Linked DNA regions of Homo sapiens: regions 1 and 3 are each linked to region 2. Evidence: promoter capture Hi-C in 16 types of primary human blood cells and fetal thymus (Javierre and others, 2016). All regions are on one chromosome and are shown on one strand. The core of a region is centred on a gene start or on the middle of the fragment in contact, and the rest is flanking DNA. Distances in the headings are between cores, read along the strand shown. Region 1 has its middle 10 kb from the start of CD69. Region 2 holds the start of CLEC9A (C-type lectin domain containing 9A). Region 3 has its middle 27 kb from the start of KLRB1.

Evidence for each region. The method cuts DNA at HindIII sites, captures the fragments that hold promoters and counts their contacts. A CHiCAGO score of 5 or more calls a contact.
Region 1: a contact is called between a fragment that was not itself captured here and the fragment with the promoter of CLEC9A in region 2, in 7 of 17 cell types (M2 macrophages, megakaryocytes, M0 macrophages and 4 more). The highest score is 17.1, in M2 macrophages.
Region 3: a fragment that was not itself captured here is called in contact with the fragment with the promoter of CLEC9A in region 2 in 1 of 17 cell types (neutrophils); the score reaches 5.2 in neutrophils.

What each region holds. Positions count from the first base shown.
Region 1 is chr12:9,749,279-9,751,978 of GRCh38, reverse strand. No RefSeq gene overlaps it. Among named protein-coding and RNA genes, the nearest start is that of CD69, 10 kb to the left of the region's middle. RefSeq lists a silencer at 432-511 and an enhancer at 972-1,266. The HindIII fragment of the contact is 1,330 bases long and covers 634-1,963 here.
Region 2 is chr12:10,029,309-10,032,008 of GRCh38, reverse strand. It overlaps CLEC9A (C-type lectin domain containing 9A), which reads right to left and starts at 1,327. Exons shown (of 9, transcript NM_207345.4): 1 at 1,037-1,327. It overlaps LOC102724020 (a long non-coding RNA gene), which reads left to right and starts at 1,386. Exons shown (of 4, transcript NR_169587.1): 1 at 1,386-1,466. The HindIII fragment of the contact is 4,478 bases long and covers 1-2,700 here.
Region 3 is chr12:9,633,570-9,636,269 of GRCh38, reverse strand. It overlaps the pseudogene LOC374443. Among named protein-coding and RNA genes, the nearest start is that of KLRB1, 27 kb to the right of the region's middle. The HindIII fragment of the contact is 2,637 bases long and covers 60-2,696 here.

The sequences.
Region 1 (2,700 bases), core at 49-2,548, 280 kb after region 2:
CTTGCACCTGAGTGAGTTCTCAGGAGATCTGGTCTTTTCAAAGTGTGCAGCACTTTCTCTCTCTCTCTCTCTCTTTCTCTCTCTCTTTCCTGCTTTCTCCATGTGACATGCCTGCTCCCACTCCACTTCACCTTCCAACATACATAAAAGCTCCCTAAGCTTCCGCGGAAGCTGAGCAGTGTCAGCATTATGCTTGTAAAAACTGCAGAACCGTAAGCCAATTAAGCCTTTTTTCTTTATAAATTACCCAGTCTCAGATATTTTTATAGCAATGCAAGAATAGCCTAATACATTTGATTACCTTCAAAATTGTTTTATAAATGTAATTTGCAATATTCTTCTCTGCTTGTTGGAAATGTATGATGTGTATGGTATCTCTAAACTATTGGCAAACGGCAAACAGAAATGTGGATTTCAGACACTGCTTAGTGAAAAATAATGACCTCTGTGCTCCTGAGTTCCCACAGCTGTGGGAAAAAAGAAACAAGCAGCCTCCTAGCGGTAATATTCTATCATTACCAACAATCTACTCCCGAGTCATCTTAGAAAACAATGTCTTGCGATTAATATTTTAGTTATAACATATTTTTATGTGCATAAATCTAATCAAATTATGAAAATTGAGAGCAAGCTTAAAAATATTTCTATATTAGTATGACACAATTTTTAAGTCATTGAATACTGACTGTATCACCTAACAATTCAATGAATTTTATCATTTTTACAAATAATTTTATTGAATCCCTATAATTATGTGAAATGAGCAGCTGATGTATTTCCCTTTCCAGAGGAAGAAGTTGAAATTATGTTGAAAAAGCGACGCAAAACACGGATAACAGAGTTATTTTTTACACATAATTTGAAGTCATTTTATTCATAAGGACAACTGTTTTCTTTAAATAGATAAAAAATATACAATTCTTAAAGGGAATAATGTTATTATTTAAAGTATGACTCTACTTGCAAGTGACCAATGACAAATATAAAAAATGGGTTTGTCTCAAGAACCCCTCCTGCCCCCGGCTAAGTCCCCTGTTACAAAAGTTGCAGTGCCATCTAGTGGTTATACGAGATTACTGCACTTCTGTTTTAAGGATCCTACAAAACATCTATGTGGAGCGTGGAGCTGCTGAGACCCAAAGCACGGGGGCCAGACCGCCCGAGTTTCATCTCTGCCACGCGCGGGCTGACTAGCTATTTTATCAGAACTCGTTCAAAATTCAGCTAAAATTAGTTAGATGTTAAATTAGTTAGTACATGAAAACAAACTTAAAACATTATCTGGCTCCCTAGTACACCATAGGCATGTATTAAATACTCATGATGATTATTAGAACTAGAAACACTATGTCTTCAAACTTCCAGTATTGGCATAAAGCCGCGTTTCTACACGACATGTCTATTTCTACGTAATATATCTTATTTGTATTTGTTTTTGGAAAGCCTTTTAAAAATTTCATTTCACAAGTTATAAGTAAGCACCTACTACTATGGTGGACACCAGAGTTAAAATACTCAGCAAATTCCGCATGGCAACTGGCCTTGTGGAATTCGTGGTCTATTTGTAAAACAAACAACAAGATGAATTGACATGGTGTGATGAATGTTATAATAGGAAAAACGTAGGGTGCTATGGAAGCATATTAAAGATATACTCCTGTATTCAAACCTTTAGCTAATTATCAAAATTTTAACTCTGTAGGCTACATTCATCTTGGATAGTTACATAAATATGTGTAAAATAAAACTATCAGTTATCCGTGTTTTGCGTTGCTTTTTCAACATAATTTCAATTTCTTCCTCTGGAAAGGGGAATACATCAGCTGCACATTTCACATAATTGTAGGGATTGGATAAAACTTTTTAAAAAGGCTAAAATGCCATTGAACTGTTAGGTGCTATAGTCAGTATTCAACTACTTAAAAATTGTATGATACTAATATAGAAATGATATTTTTAAGCTTGCTGTCAATTTTCATAATTTGATTAGATTTTGCACATGAAAATGTATTATAACTGAAATTAAAATGTAAATGATTTTTCAGGGAAAAATATTGGGAAATATATGACCAGAACGACTGCTGGTGATGGTGTAAACTGGTTTCCTTTACCCTTTGGAAAGCAGCTTGACAATACTTACTGGGGAGGGAGGGAGATTTTAAAGAAATAATCTTGGATGTGCAAGACATAACCACAAAAATGTTTATCAAAGGGATATTTCTAGTAGTGAAAAATCAGAAGCTACCTAATTGTCCAAAACCAAAGATTTAGTTAAATAAATATAATGCTCCTACATGATGAAATGCTATCCCAACATTAAAAAATAATGAAGAACATTTATGTATATGAAAGAATACTCAAACTATTATTGCTGCTAGTTTAAAATAATATATACAATAGGATTATTTCCTGTTCAATATTAAATATACAAAACATGTTTTATATTTCTATATGCTGACAGAAAGTAAAACTACTAAAGTAAACACAGTGGTTTTCCCTGAGGAGGAGGAATATAGGAAGTATTTATTTTCTTTATGTTTTTCTATAATTTTGGATCTCTTTCTTTCTTTCCTTTCTTTTTCTTTTCTCTTTTTTCTTTCTTTCTTTCTTCTTTTTTTCCTTTTTTTTTTTTTTCCGAGTCTCACTCTGTCGCCCAGGCTGGAATGCTGTGGCTCGATCTCCGCTCACTGCAGCTTCTGC
Region 2 (2,700 bases), core at 78-2,577:
TGAGCATCTGCAACACTGAACTTAGCTCTCCAAACAAGGCTCAGCCTTGTCTGCATTCCTTTCCCTACCCTCACTTCCCCTTCTACTTGGAATGTTATTTGTAGCATTTGTTTGTCTCCTGTAACCCTGCCAATCCTTCCCAATCCTCAGAGCCTTCACTGACAGCATCGGGCGGCTCACTCGTTCCTGCTGCCATAGTAATTTGTGCGTAACTTTTCTTGAGATTTATCACATCCTGTTATTATATGCTGTTTCTTCTACCGACATTGGTTGCTACTCCCATTTCTCAACCTCCTGGCTTCAAGCAATCCTCCCACCTTGGCCTTCCAAAATGCTGGGATTACAGGTGTAACTAACTGCACCTGGTCTTGCTACTCCCGTTTCTAAATAAAATTTCAATCTGAGTAAAAACTAAAGCCAATTTCTTCCCAAAATGGTGGGGGGCACTGGACACAATATCGAAGACCATTAGCACAATCAGTAGCACCAGACAATGAGTCAGCAGAGTCACTAAAGCCTCAGGCCACGAGTTAGAAGACACTTCACAGATTAAAGGAAATCAACAGAGGAGTAAGAAATAACCAGGGATGGCCTCCTGGAGATTTCGTGTTTGACTCCCTTTCCCTCTCTATCTCTAAAGAGAAAGTGCAGAGGGCATTTTAGACTGAGGGATCAGTAGGAGCAAGAGTAAGGAAGCTACCTGATTTACAGAGGCTGTCTACTGCCTGCAGTATCAGGCCATTGAAATACACTTAACGTCTTTCCACCAGCGGCTCCAGCCTTCCCCTCCACTTGCATCTTCCCTCATCCATCTCTGCAGATGATACATACTCCCACATATCATTCATTATTTCTTAAATATATCAGCTCACACCTTCATATTATTTTACATTTCTTCAGAATCTTTCCTAACCTAGAATGCCCTTTCCCCTTTCTCCTTTAATCATGCCTTTCTTATAAAGTAGGTTCAGATGACCTTCTCTGTCAGCATCATCTGTAATGACATACCTTCCACCCTACTGCCAGTGGTTCTTACCTCTTCTGCAGAGAGTATCATCAGTTTGAATCATTTAGATCTTGGCTAACATGGGAATCTTTACCATTGTGTGGATCAAATACCCAGATCTTGATAAGAAAAATAAAAATGCTATTGTCACATAAATGGCTGGGTTTAATCATCTGTGGGCCTTAGAGTATGTTTTCTTCAGGACAAGGTAGGCCGTTGTGCTTCACAAGAGCTTGCGAGTTATTTGAGAAGAATCAAAACATGTTGCCAGTCTAGCAGAAAAGCATTTCAACTTCACCACAGATTGCCACAGCCGGGTACAAACGGAAGTCCCGCCCCCTTCCAGGTTGTTGGGGTGGGAGCTGCCGGATGAGCTGCTGCGGCCCTCGGGGCGCAGGACCACACCATCTGCGCAGCCTGCACCCTCGCGGCCCGGTAAACTTGACAGTTTCTTATAGAGGTAAGTATAGTATTAACAGACAATCTAGGAACCATAGAAAGTGGAAAACCTGTACACACTGCTGAGACCAGCTCGGTCTGGGAGACCCTAACCCAGAGGCGCTAGAGGAATTAAAGACACACACAGAAATATAGAGGTGTGAAGTGGGAAATGAGGGGTCTCACAGCCTTCACAGCCGAGAGCCCCGAACAGAGATTTACCCACGTATTTATTAGCAGCAAGCCAGTCATTAGCATGGTTTCTGTAGATATTAGGTTAACTGAAAGTATCCCTTATGGGAAACAAAGGGATGGGCCGAATTAAAGAAATAGGTTGGGCTAGTTAACTGCAGCGGGAACATGCCCTTAAGGCATAAATTGCTCATGCTATTGTTTGTGGCTTAAGAATGTCTTTAAGTGGTTTTCCACCCTGGGCGGGCCAGCTGCTCCTTGCCCTCATTCCCGTAAACCCACCACCTTCCAGCATGGGTGTTAGGGCCATCATGAACATGTCACAGTGCTGCAGAGATTTTGTTTATGGCCAGTTTTGGGGCCAGTTTATGGCCGGATTTTGGGGGGCTTGCTCCCAACACACACAAAAACTGGCACACACATTTTCACAGGAGCTTTATTCATAATTGCCAGACATTAGAAGTAATTATGATGTCTTTCAAAAGATGAGTGGATAAACAAACTGTGGTACATTCATGCAATGGAGTATCATTCGACAACAAAATGAAATGTTGTCAAACTATGAAAAACATGGAGGAATCTTAAATGCATATTACTACGTGAAAGAAGCCGGTTTGAAAAGCTATCATATTATCCTAGCTATATGACATTCGAGAAAAACCAAGACAAAGAAAACAAAGAGATCAGTTGTGACCAATGATTCAGGGGAAGAGGAAGATTGATAGGAAGGGGGAAGATTGCTGAGTAGGTAGGGCACAGGGGATTTTTGTCTGCAAAAATGTACACCCATGTACATAAGCAGGGCTCTGAATTTTTTAAACTTTTCAAATTTTGTGGCAGGGCCTATTGAATGGGTTGAGGGAGACCTTCCTGATTGATACCTACTAATGTATATACAAATTTGAGACAGATATTTTGAGGGAGAGTGGAATTCAGGTACAACATACCTATTACCCCAGAAAGGTGTCAAGTGGAAGTAAAAAAAAAAAAAAAGAGGTGTGTGAGGTAAAAAATTAAATTAAATTCTAAATGAGGACATGGAGGTTCTTGTGGAAAGTTTTTTC
Region 3 (2,700 bases), core at 129-2,628, 400 kb after region 2:
TGAATAAGAGTGATGAGAGTAGCCATCCATGTTTTGTTCCAGATCTTTGGGAAAAAGCTTTCAGCTGTCATAACCAAAATAGATCTGAGGAATGAGCATTCCTTACCTTGGGAACAGCAGGAGCAAAGGGCCTAAGGAAGGGGAACCTGGCATGTGCTAGGAATGGAAAGAAGTTCTTGTGGATCTAATATGATCAACATGGCAGTGGAGGCAGAAGTGGAGAAGGATGAGTGGTGAAGGTTGAGGCTGAGGACATGTAAAGATGCTAGATTGTATTGGACCTTGTTAAACAGCGAGAAGGATTTGGGTATCATTTTTTTCTCTAACTGCAAAAAGGAGCTATTGAAGGACTTCAAGCAGAGAAAAGATACTTTTGCATTTTTATATTTTAGAAGATACCTCTGACTGCTAGGTGGAACAGGTTTGCAGAAGGGTAACTGTGGAAGCGACAACTAGATCTGTTAATCTACACATCTGTACCTGTGTAAATACAGAAGTGAAGTGAGCCAAGAATAAAATCTTAATTTTGCATTTAGAGGAAAACACAGGAAAAGTCAGCAAATGAGAAACTGTGGCCCTTGAAGTGGGAAGAACAGTAGAATAATGTGTTTTAGGAAGATATAAGGGAAAGACATTGGACAGGGGCTACTTTGTTTATAGGATTACTTTTCAGTGGTTTCAATTGTAGAGGAAAAATACCCATATTCCTCAATTGCACTTATTATTTTCTAATAATGAGTCATAAAGAATGCTAGTAGTATGCAAGTAGCTAATACAATAACCTTATTGTATTTGAATCTCTGTAGGCTATTCTCAAAGAAAAATTGCATTGGACAAAGTTAAATAGGCAAGGAAGACTTTATTCAAAATTGTTGCAATAGGTGTCAAGCCTGTTCCAATAAGAAAGAGAGACTGTATTCAAATCTGTTGAACAAAAAGCAGGAGAGATTGTAAAGGCTGGAGTATGCTAGTGAAAAAGTTCTGGAGAATATTAGTGGGGAAGGTGGGTCAACATGATTAGGCCATCTGTATTTGCTAACTGGCACATATGGAAGTTAGAGTACTACCCTCCCACAGAGATGGGAAGATAAGGGAACTATTTTTCTTGATGATTATTTTTCAAAGAAATGGCTCCCAGGTCTTTGAGAAAGATATTCCTGGGTTGCAAAACCGATAAAAGGCTAGAGAAAAATTTAAATCTCAAATAAGAAGACAGAAAGAATTTATAGTGGGAAGTTTTCTAAAGTAAACAATCTAAGAAAAGAGAAGTAAAGGAGTGATACGTCAGGGAGAAATCTGTCTAAAGTTTAGTCAAGTTGAGGGGAACATCAAGGCAGTCCCGTTCATCCTATACATGTATAAAATCTTGTTCAGAGGTACCTTGACATTAACTCACCCTCAAAATTCTTGCAAAACTCATAACAGAATATTTTATTTACGTTTGCAAAGTCTAAGCAATATGGATAACATTTTGTGTTGAAAGCAGCTAAAAGGCTTTTAGCAAAGCAACACAATAAACACTGGTTTAATCTGCTTGAATTTAGCCAGACCACTCAACTAAGAGCAGAGCTACCTTTTTAAGAATTAAGCCCAGCCTTAGGCAAAACTGTGAAGTAGACACGATTTTGCTTTAGTTCTTCACCTCCATGTGTCCTGGTATAACAGCCCCCAATGATACTGTAGATTTTGAAAGAAGCCTGAATTTGGGAGTTGAGAAACAGTTCAGTCTTCCTGTTTACTCATCTACAAAGTAAAGAAAAGAATATCTACTTAGCAAATACAAGTATTGGTACCTCCAATGAAATAATGTGGATTTAAACATTTCATCAATTAGTTTCTGACTTCAGTACACAGGTGTAAGGACAGAAAAAGAAAGGCATTGCAGCGCCCTCTTCTGGGAACTGTTGGTAAACTAACTCAGATAGTTGAAATGGATTTTCTAGGTGAATACAAAAGTTTCACTCTAGGAATAACTGCTCCACTTTTTAAAATATACAGATACATTGAAGTGTGCAAACAAACATCAAATTCAAACTCTTGAAGAGAAACACCAATGTTCATCCTTTTCCTCAACCCCTATCCACACATCCATGCAGGCAGCCCAGGGGACCTCAGATTGAAAATCGGAAAATAACTTATCAAGAAGCCATGTCACTTATAGCATTAGCTCTAAAACTTTAATTCATCTATGTATTACCTGGAGATCTTTTAAAACTGCAGATTCATATTCACTGGGTCCAGGATTCTACATTTCTAACAATCTCCCAGGTGAGACCTACACTGATGGTGGCATGACTGAAATCACCTTTGAAAAATTATAACAGTGAGAATGTAACCACCCAACAGGTTCACCTTGCCCAAGGCCTAGACAGAGCCAATATATCAAGACAGGGAAATTGCAATAGAGAAAGAGTAACTCATGCAGAGGCAGCTGTGTGGGAGTCCAGAGTTTTATTCAAAACTCAAATCAGTCTCTTAGAGCATTCAGGGAGCAGTTTTTAAGAACAACTTGGTAGGTGGGGGGAATCCAGTGATACAGGACATAGAAATAAATTATTTAGGCAGATAGTAAGGACAACAGAGTCATAGGCAGAATTTTCCATTTTAACAAAAAGCAGCCCAAAAAATCATTTCTTTTCTAACAAAGAGCAGCCTGAGAAATCGAGCTGCAGACATACATGAGCAAGCTGGAAGCTTGCA